Linked DNA regions of Homo sapiens: all the other regions are linked to region 3. Evidence: promoter capture Hi-C in 16 types of primary human blood cells and fetal thymus (Javierre and others, 2016). All regions are on one chromosome and are shown on one strand. The core of a region is centred on a gene start or on the middle of the fragment in contact, and the rest is flanking DNA. Distances in the headings are between cores, read along the strand shown. Region 1 overlaps WDR49 (WD repeat domain 49). Region 2 overlaps WDR49 (WD repeat domain 49). Region 3 holds the start of WDR49 (WD repeat domain 49).

Region 1 (3,199 bases), core at 521-3,020, 160 kb before region 3:
ATCTTAAAGCACCCTCAAGTTCCCATATGATCACAAGCTTAGGAACCTCAAGCCTCCAACTTCTTGCCTCCCTGGCCACATAACTTATTTAGAATCCTGGACAGTAGTTTGCTCAGATTAGTGAGAAACAGCCAGTGTCTAGATGAATCAGGTCACATTCCTCTTTAAATCCTCTGAAGGCTTCCCTTTATACTTAAACCAAATTTTTTGCCCAGGCAACATGGTCCCACATGACATGACCCCTGAGCCCCCTCTAATCTCATCTGATACCAGTCTCCTCACTCCATTCTAGCAATGGTGACCTCTTTTCTGTCCCTGGAACATGTCAATTTTGTTCCCAGTGGTTTTATACTTGTTTCCTGTGCTTGGGACATTCTGCCCCAACATCTTTGTAGAACTTTCTACCTTAGGATTTAGCTTAAATGTCAGAGAGACCTTCACTGATGTTCTTCCTAATGTCACCTTATTATATTATCTTGTTGTATTTTCTTCTTAGCTCTTATCAATATCATTCTCCAAACTTATCATCTTTAACTATTTATCTACTTATTATTACCTATCTCTCTTCCTAGACAATAAATTCAGCAGCAGTAGACTTTGTTTGCCTTTGTATACCATATATCCCTAGCACCCAGCATTGTATCTGGCTCATGGAAAAGGGACTCAAAATGTATATTTGTTGAATATATGAGCACATGAATGAAGGAACTTTCAGGCATGCAAAGGGGTTGGCTCACTCCTCACCCTTTGGAATCCCTGCATTCCAGAGACCTGGGGACCCTATAATATTCATAAAAGGGTGATTCTCCATGTCACATATATACATATACATCCATTTAACCACAACCAAGTTCTTAAAAATTAACATCTAGTGTTATCAGTAACCACTTACATTCACTATTCCCTACCTGGGAAAATATGACATTTATACACTCATCACTTCACTTTATAGTTGGCTGCCTGACAAGGTTTATTATAATGATAGCCAAAAGCTGTTTTCACAGTGATGAAAAGGAAAGATGTGGTGGTCAGGAAAGTATCCAAAACATTTTTTCTATAATAAAATGATTCAAGGATCTTAACATAGAAGAATTGGTTTATATATTGTCTTCTGGTCTTTCCCTTGCCTGCTAATTGGCAACTAACTATATCAGCTGAACAACAGTGGCAAAACTCACAAAGATACCCTGGCAACAAAGGACTTGGCAGCTATGTAATGTACTATGCAATGACTACCTGTCTATGAGTGTACAGCATTCTGAAAACTCCTTTCTAATTCACATTCTTCCTCCTATTCTGTGTCCTATTTTGCGTCTTCTAGACAAATTCTTATTTATCAAACTTATATGTGCATAAGAATCACCTGGAGTTCTCATTAAAATACAAATTCCCATGCAACAGATCTGGGGTGGGTCCTGAGATGCTGCATTTCTAAGGAGCTCCCTGGTGATGCCCATGCTGCTATCCACTGCCCACATCTTGAGGTCAAGCTTCTGATTTCTAAATCTAAGCTCTAGGTGAGTATTGTCAAATGTCCTTTTATTTCAGCCACCATCCAGTAACAAACAGGCAACAAAGCAACGGGTTGGTGAGAAAGAGTGGTGATGATTAATCAAAATACTTTAATAGTTTTCATATGACTCTCAAATAATGGTTGCTTGGGACCTGTTGAACCTTTTAAATATGTTGTTCACATATTAATGACTTCTGTTTTATAGACCCAAAATTTTGGTCTGTGTGTGTTGTATTTGTGAATTTTGAGATAATTTAGTGTTATGTAAATAAAAATGTAGAGCAATAGGAAGGATTTCTACTTTTTAAAATGCCCCTGAGTTTTCTGTTCATTCTGGATGTTTAGTATCCAAAAGGTCCTGAGGTGAGCCATGTGTAGCAATCTCTCATTTATCATATAGTCAATGCATGTATCTACAAATGCTTTCTTCCTACATTTTAATTATTTGTTCAAGTAAGAACTTTTATATGATATCAAAGATTATTTTTCTTTACCGGTGCTAGATTTAAAATTATACTCTAAAACAAAGATTTTAATAAAAGCTTATGTGTATATTTTTGACCTGTAGCTTAAGGGCTAATGTGAAACATTGTGTGTTTCAATAAAACACTATGTATTGTCTCCAGCACACCCTTCTGGGTTGTTAGATTCTAGTTGAGTTCACTGTTTTTGAACTATTTTTGCCCCTCTTTTCAATTGCAAGCCACTGACGGATATGCAAACTTTGTTTTATCTGCTAGAGATTTGACTTCCTCTTCTCCTTGGAAACACCACTTTCGGGATCTACTTGCAAATTGGACTGGTCTGCTACCTTGCACAAATTGTCAACTCTCCAAACTTTTCAATCTTATGTGTTTTTTTTCAACATTTAACTACAACTTTCCAAATTAACATTTTCAGTTTTTCTCCCTCCCACCTAAGGACATTACCAAGAATTAAAACCTGACATCCCAGATCCCTATACAGACTTTTGGTTGCCTTGCAGCTGTCCCTTTCTCCCAGGATCGTTGGGACTTCAAAACAGCTGACCTTTGCCACCACCTGGCAATATAAATTCAAGTGGTTTTGTAGGAGCAACATCAACAAGAACCCCTGAGAGACTATTTCTGAGACTCTGCTTTGCCCCACCCGGGAGCTTTAGAATCACTTTTAGGTTGTTCAGCAATGAGTGATATTCATTTTTCTTAAACACAAGGGGGATGAGACTGGCGATGCTGAACTTTACCTCAGTCCAGTGCTCCTGGAAAGTGAAGACATTTAAGAAATCTCTCTACATTTTCATGTTCTAGAAACAGCTAACCACAAAGGACTCCTCTCCTCTCATATATTCCAGGACCCTCTCTTTCCTTCCTCTTGAGTCCTATAAGAATCACAGATGACTTCCTCATCTACCTACCTCTACAAAAGCTCAGACCTCTTTTCTTTTCTTTGAGATGTTCCTGTTTAATGAACTTTCTCCGTATTGCAGTAGGCTGAATAAAACCATCTCTTTAATTGTTTCGTACATTTTGTCTTTCACAGAGCAACAGCTACAACAAAACAAGTCACCTGAGGTATCATTAATAGAGCATTTTCTCCACACTGTTTCAAGTTTTAAAGATTTTACAGATACAATGTGAATGGGTTCTGGGGAATTTATTGGCAAAACCTGACTCAGAGGCAGTTCTAAGTAGCTTCCAGGATTTT
Region 2 (3,407 bases), core at 645-3,144, 140 kb before region 3:
CTGTGGAATCTAAATCAAGTAGCTTTTATATAAAGCAAAACATTTTGCCCATTTCCACTAAAGAGTTTTATCCACAGAGGGAGAAAAGTAGTCAGACGGTAGGAGAGAATCTCTTGGAAATCACAACAAATTAAGTCAACAATCTATTGCTTCCTTTTCACAGACAGACATCTGACATTTGCAGGAGTGGTTACTCTGAAAATGCACAGGGAACTGGAAAAAGGCAAATATTCTCAAGAGGAGAAGTGATGGATGAAGACAAAGAAGCAGAATAATGTAATACCAGGCTTAAATAGAGTTTTAAAACATTTTGCAAAAATGCCTTAGTAGGTGATGCAGGAAGGCGATCTACTATGGGATCCACCAGCTTTGGCATCAATCCTATGAGGAGGAAAGGCTCTAACTAATCTCACTTCTCTTGGCTCTGGCTGTGGAAGGGAGGTATAATGACTGTGACAATTACTCAAGTACCCTCCTAGGCATCAAAAAGGAAGTGAAAAATGCTTAGAGTAGTGGCTTATACATAGCAGGTACTTGATAAAATATTTGATGGCTTGACTCAGAAACCAATAATTTGTCAATATTTTCACATGATGCTTGTTGGACAGGCAACACAGAACACTGATAAAGTACTAACTCTGGAGGCTGAATGCCTGCATTTGTATCCCTAGTTCACCTCTTGGTTGGTTGACCTTGTGCAAATCTGTTAACTTCTCCGCCTCTGTTTTTCAAGTTGTGAAATGGGGATGACAATAGTAGCTATCTTCTAGGATTACAGTGAGAATTAAATGAGGTAAACACATAAAGACCTTAGAACAGGCCCTGAAATATAATCAGGGCTCAGTTGGTATTGGCTACTATCACTTTAAGCAAAAGCAAGACAATATTTTTCACTCAAAGCAGGGAGTTCTAACACCCCCCTACAGCAAGCTCCAATATTCTTCAGAACTATCAGAATGATCAGACAAAAAATAAAAAGATGTGGCACTCCCCCAAATAACAATTTGCTGTTCTAGTATTTTTAAAGTTCAAATTTCAAAAATTGAATAGAGTATCATATGCTTTCATTTGTCATACATGGACATAGGATAGTTATTGCCAGATTGTTGGTGAAAGTAGACTGCCAATTCGTCAAGTATTTACATCACATAAAGCCTAATTTAAAATGGGATTTTAATATTTTGTGTATTTTTTCTTATAGCTATTTATCTATTTTCTAATTTAATTTCTCACATGAAATCTACTGACAGAATAATTAGGTAATCAATAGCATTTAAATAATATTAAATATCAGTTCCCTCCTAACAATAACATGGAATTTAAAACATCATAATTATTTTCCATGTTTAAGAAACATTAATTTGAGGTGTGCCCTCTGCCTTGTATAAACTTACTGGGAAACTAGTAGAATTTTTGTTTCATTTCTCATCTGAGTCTTTATACTTGTTTCTAATAATGAATCCCTTCCAGATAAGCAATTTTTTAAATGGTAACCAAAGGAAAATGTGTCAGATAATAAAAAATGGAGTAGTTTATGCTCTTTGTTGCTCTAGAATAAGAATGAAGATCAGTAAGTGAGAGTTCTACAGATGGATTTTACTTAACATTAGAGACATTAAGAATAGTTCAATAATAGAGAAGGGTATCTGTGAGATGTGAGTGTGTCATATAGGAACTATTCAAAAAGGCTGGGATGTGTTTCTCTTAAAGATGCCATAGGAGTTAGTCTAGTAGACTTTGAATACCCCTTTAAAATTTATTATTGAATTATCAAAGGTTAATAAACCTGAAAAATGTTTACTTTCACAAATAATCAAAAACTTTAGTTTAAAGCAATAAGATATCATAGCGACAGTTTTAAGACAGCAATAACAACCATTTTTGGTTCGAAGGCAGGAAAGCAACCATTTGTATTGCTGCTGGAGGGAGAGCTGATATGTCCAGACAGCAAGATGACCTTTAGCAAGATGACCCAAAGGCCTTTATGCCTTTTGACTCAGCAATTCCTCTCAAAGAATGTATTCTAATTATGAATTCAATAAGATATTCTAATATGTGCACATGAAGGTATTTAAAGAACTGTTTTCCCAGTTAAAATTTGTAAACAGTCTACATATTTGAAATAAAGAAAATGGTTAAAAAGCTACAAGTCATTATAAATGTTGTTGTCCATGGATACTCATATTAACTAATATGAAAATGTGCCTACTGCATATTTTTGAGCGATAAAACAGGTTATAAACTGTGTCTACTAAGTCACAGTTATTTTTATAAAATGTACATTTTTTCATTGTTGTAAGTATGCCTAAAGCAAGGTCTTAAAAGTGAAATGCCTAATGTTAACAATGGCTTTACCACAGATATTTTCACCTTTTGCTTATTTGTACTTCCAAATTTTCCCGTAATAAAAATGTAGTATTTTTGGCCAGGCACAGCGGCTCATGCCTATAATCCCAGCACTTTGGGAGGCCGAGGCGGGCAGATCACGAGGTCAGGAGTTCAAGACCAGCCTGGCCAACATGATGAAACCCCGTCTCTACTAAAAATACAAAAATGAGCTGGGCATGGTGGCATATGCCTGTAATCCCTGTATTAATTTTATAATAAGGAAATATTCTGAAACTGTATTTTCTGAATTATTCATTTTATCTATAATTTTCCTAGGTTAGATAATTTTACATGAGTCCAAAAAACAAATATTCCTATAAACTAGGAAAAATATATGTCCACTGTAGTTTTTTTTACTATTTTATCCCTTCACTTATTTATTTTTTTAGAAGTTTTTTAAAGCTAGTATGAGTTTTGCAGACTCTAGGAAAAGGATAAATCTATTTCTCCATATCAATTGTTAACTTAGAATTAGGCCTTTCTATTAATCTCTTAAATTCTATATTCATCTCCCCAGGACTTAACTTGAAGATAACTCTTTACCATCTACCTACTTCTCACAAATAGTATTATAAAATACTTTCAGCCCTGTGAAAAGCCAGGTATGTTTGTATAAGCCAGAAGATAATATACACCCCAATTTTTTAACCTGGAAAGAGACTCTTAGGTGTTAAAATGAGAAAATAGCTTTAAGACACTTAATTTTTTCTTCATGTTTCTTGTTTCTTCTATTTTCTTTAGACTTTTTCTATTTTCCTTCATCTTTCTTCCTGTGCACCAACCCCCATCTAAACATACCCCCACCTGCATATATACACCAAGTGTACTTTTTCTCCTGTAGTCTAAATTCTTTCACATTTTTATTTTTCTTTCATATTTTTTCATATGGATGAGAGCTAGCATGATTCTTTCCTTGAATTTACCAATCTGACTAGGTAAAGGGGCACATTCTTCGGAAGAATATTTCTTAAAAATAAAATGATTTATAATATTTTCCGTACTAGATGGAAAGCACAAAG
Region 3 (3,654 bases), core at 1,037-3,536:
TTCATACAAGCTCCGAATTACCTTCTCTTCTCCTCTTTGGTCCATTAGTTCCTGCTTTTCCAACCGGTAATGTCAAAATAAGTGGTCTGGCCTTTGAAATATTTAACATAAAATAGAAATAAATTAAAACTTGAGGTTGAATTTTCCAGTTTCACTTGGGTTCATTCAAGACTAATCTGCAGTTTGGAAAGAACACCCACCTCTAACCTTCTGAAGCAGTTTCACCAACACATCAACTTTATAATGTAGACTCTCCTAATAGGCCCTAGCATTCAAATTCTTTGTGTTCTTAGCACCGGAACAAAACTGCCACATTTCTGTTCACTATAGAGTCAAAGCTGTCATAATCTGCTGTTATGTTTTACTGAATGTCCTCAAGCTGTCAAAATGTTTGCTATGTCTATCAAAATATGCTAAATTTACTTGGGGCACTGGGCATGAGCAGCAGCAGTGAAATCTTTCAGACAAATGAGGTTGGTTGAATAGCAAATATATGAAGGTTGAAATGAGAAAAGTGTAGGACAGAGCATGTCTTGCTACTAAATATGATAAGTTCTATTATAAAGAAATGATTGATACTATTGGGACATTAATTTATCAATACAGGTGGAACCCAACTTGTTATATTCTTTTGTGGATATCCAAAGATAAAAATGTGTGCCTATTACAGGCTAATATATTGTGAGCTTTTATTATATTTTATTAATTTCCAGGTGGTATTCCAAAATATTTTCTATTTCAAATTAGTATGGATACTCCAAGCACCCACGGACAATCTTAAGAAGGCCCTAGATCATACTTTAGTAAACATAATATAGTAGAAATGTTGGAGGCTCATGACTACCTAAATTCTACGTCATGGAAGAGCACTTCTTTCTACCCATATTTGAAACTAAAAACCACTTTGATGTATGCTGTTCATTATGCATAGCTGCAGAATTCAAAATTCATTGACTAAGAGAGAAGAAAATTATTCATTTACAGTTAAATTCCTATGGTTTATTTTTTATGCAGAGTTAAAATGAAAAATTCTAATTTTGTTTTTATTGGCATTGTTCCAGGATTTACAAAATGAGTGGGAGACTCGTCCCTCATAAGGGATCTTGGGACAACAAAGTGCCAGAATCAGCTTAGAAAAGGAGCTGTGCCACTTAGGGTGAGTGAGACAGGAGGAAATTTTTTGCAAACTGGGTATGCATATTTGCATTTGCTGAGTTCTATGTCCGTATTAAATGCAAGAACAATTATTCCTGGAGGTCACCTTAGAGATCTGGCTTTCTTCACTCACAGCCATAATTTTTTGTTTCCCCAAAATATGTTGATCTCTAAGAAAAAAATTTTTTCCAACAATAAATAGTTCTTTCTTGATAGTAATGAAATTCAGTGAAGCAATTTCAAACTAAAGAATATTATTTGGCCCAAAGAACTGAGGGGCAAAGCTACCAAGCACATTGTGTTAAATCCAGGCCTAACCAATTATTTTTAATTCTCTGCTATAACAATTAAGTGTATTTTTTTAATGCTTAAAGAAAAATATCTCTGTGTTTCATTCTAGGCTCCTTCATGAACAACTCAAACTATCTGGTCAATAAGCTTCACACTTACCTCAAAGGCCTTCTGTATTTTTACAAAGTCACCCACGCTGAGTTGGTTTTCAAGCAGGCCTGTGCCATAGTCTTCAAATGCAGTTACACCTTCTGTTCTCTCAGGACTCTTTGGCCCAAGCTGTGACCCTATGTTTAACTCAAGTACAGCTTTCTGGCAACTCATAATGGCTTCACCTTTTCTCAGTTGCCTTCAACTATTTCTATAAGGATGGATCTTCTTTTTCCTTCAACAGGTGCCTTTGAAAAGAAACTCAACTTAGCAACAGAATTCCAAAATGAAAGTACAAACCTTTCAAGGCATACGATCAGGAGGCAAAATGTTCAAGCTGAGGTAGGAAATGAAAGCCCTCAACCCTCTCACTTATTTGATTCTAGAGTTTATTTTCAAAATTTACAGTTGAATGCTTTTAAAATGGTATTTTTACCCCTTCCTTATACTCTGTTTAACCTGGCTTGATTAAAAATGTGTAAAGCTTTCCCCACATTTATAGTAACTGACACAGAAAACAACTTCCAATCCTCATTTTAAATGCATTAGAAAAGCACCTTCCCAAAAATCTCTTTAACTAACCTTGCTTCCATTAACATGTTGTAGTTTTCAATTCCACTTTCTTGTCTGGAAGAGTTAGATGACAAAGCTGCAGAGTTTCCCTACCAATGAAGTACTTGACTCTGAATGCCACCTTCCCAGCAATGTGGAGTTGTTTGTTTCATCTGTTCTGATCCTTTTGTATGTTTCCTGGCAACCAACACAAAGCCAACTAAAACTTTCCCTTTCACTTCCCCCTCTCCAACTGAAAGTTTAAATATATAATGTAAATGTTGAAATGGTTTTTTTTGAAATAAAAGGACAGTTCATTCCACTCATTTTTTATTAAACGACATCTTGTATTATTTAAAGACAACTTTTACCATTATATAGGATATATATTATGAAACTATATGATTAGTCAAAGAGAAAAGCATGAAATTCTGGAATTTTATGTTTTATACACAGAAAATGTTTTATTTTTATATAAAAGGAATCTGTTTCTTATATTCTTTTTGTCTTAGTTTCTATGTATATAAAATAGAGATGGTTCAAAAAAGCTTCCAACTTGTTGAAAATGTGATAAAAAAACACAGCATAACATAATATGATAAATCTAATGATAAAATTGCTTGCAGTGTCATTACTGGTTCAGCTAATAATAATGAAAAGGAGGAGAAAAAGAAGAAAAATTAACATTTTTTGAGTATTAACCATGTGCCAGGCACTAAAACTTTATGTTCATTGTCTTGTTTAAGCTTCACAACAATCCTACAAGGCAGATGTGATCATTATCCCCATTTTACTGATAAAGAAGCAAAAAGCCGGGCAAGGTGGCTCACGCCTGTAATCCCTGCACTTTGGGAGGCTGAGGCAGGTGGATGGCTTCAGCTCAGGAGTTCGAGAGCAGCCTGGGCAACATGACGAGACATTGTATCTAGTAAAAATACAAAAATAATCAGCCGAGCATGGTGGCGCACACCTGTGATCCCAGCTACTCGGGAGGCTGAGTTAGAAGGATCCCTTGAACCTGGGGGGCAGAGGTTGCAGTGAGCCAAGATTGTGCCACTGCACTCCAGCCTGGGCAACAGAATGAGACCCTGTCTCAAAAAAGAAAAAAAAAAAAAGCAAAGAAAATGCCAAAGGTCACACAAATAGTAACATACGGAAGAGAACAGAATGGCTCCCAAACTTCAGATACTGCATGTATTAGTCTGTTTTCACACTGCTAATGAAGACATACCTGAGACTGGGTAATTTATAAAGGAAAGAGGTTTAATTGACTCATAATTTCACATGGCTGGGGAGGCCTCAAAATCATGACAGAAAGCTAATGAGGGCAAAGTCATGACTTACATGGCAGTAGGCAAGACAGCATGTGCAGGGTAACTCCCATTTATAAAACCATCAGATCTCATGAGACTTATTCACTACCAGGAGAACAGTATGGGGAAACCGCCCCCTTGAGTCAATTATCTCCACCTGGCCACGCCCTTGTCATGTGAGGATTATTACAAT

What was found. The method cuts DNA at HindIII sites, captures the fragments that hold promoters and counts their contacts. A CHiCAGO score of 5 or more calls a contact.
Region 1: a contact is called between a fragment that was not itself captured here and the fragment with the promoter of WDR49 in region 3, in 1 of 17 cell types (monocytes). The highest score is 5.6, in monocytes.
Region 2: a contact is called between a fragment that was not itself captured here and the fragment with the promoter of WDR49 in region 3, in 2 of 17 cell types (monocytes and M2 macrophages). The highest score is 6.9, in monocytes.

The regions. Positions count from the first base shown.
Region 1 is chr3:167,488,566-167,491,764 of GRCh38, forward strand. All of the region lies in intron 18 of WDR49 (WD repeat domain 49), which reads right to left. Among named protein-coding and RNA genes, the nearest start is that of SERPINI2, 16 kb to the left of the region's middle. The HindIII fragment of the contact is 565 bases long and covers 1,489-2,053 here.
Region 2 is chr3:167,507,680-167,511,086 of GRCh38, forward strand. All of the region lies in intron 16 of WDR49 (WD repeat domain 49), which reads right to left. Among named protein-coding and RNA genes, the nearest start is that of SERPINI2, 35 kb to the left of the region's middle. The HindIII fragment of the contact is 7,574 bases long and covers 1-3,407 here.
Region 3 is chr3:167,651,656-167,655,309 of GRCh38, forward strand. It overlaps WDR49 (WD repeat domain 49), which reads right to left and starts at 2,287. Exons shown (of 19, transcript NM_001366157.1): 1 at 2,179-2,287; 2 at 1,606-1,844. The coding sequence starts at 1,770. RefSeq lists enhancers at 1,501-2,024, 2,025-2,547. The HindIII fragment of the contact is 616 bases long and covers 2,079-2,694 here.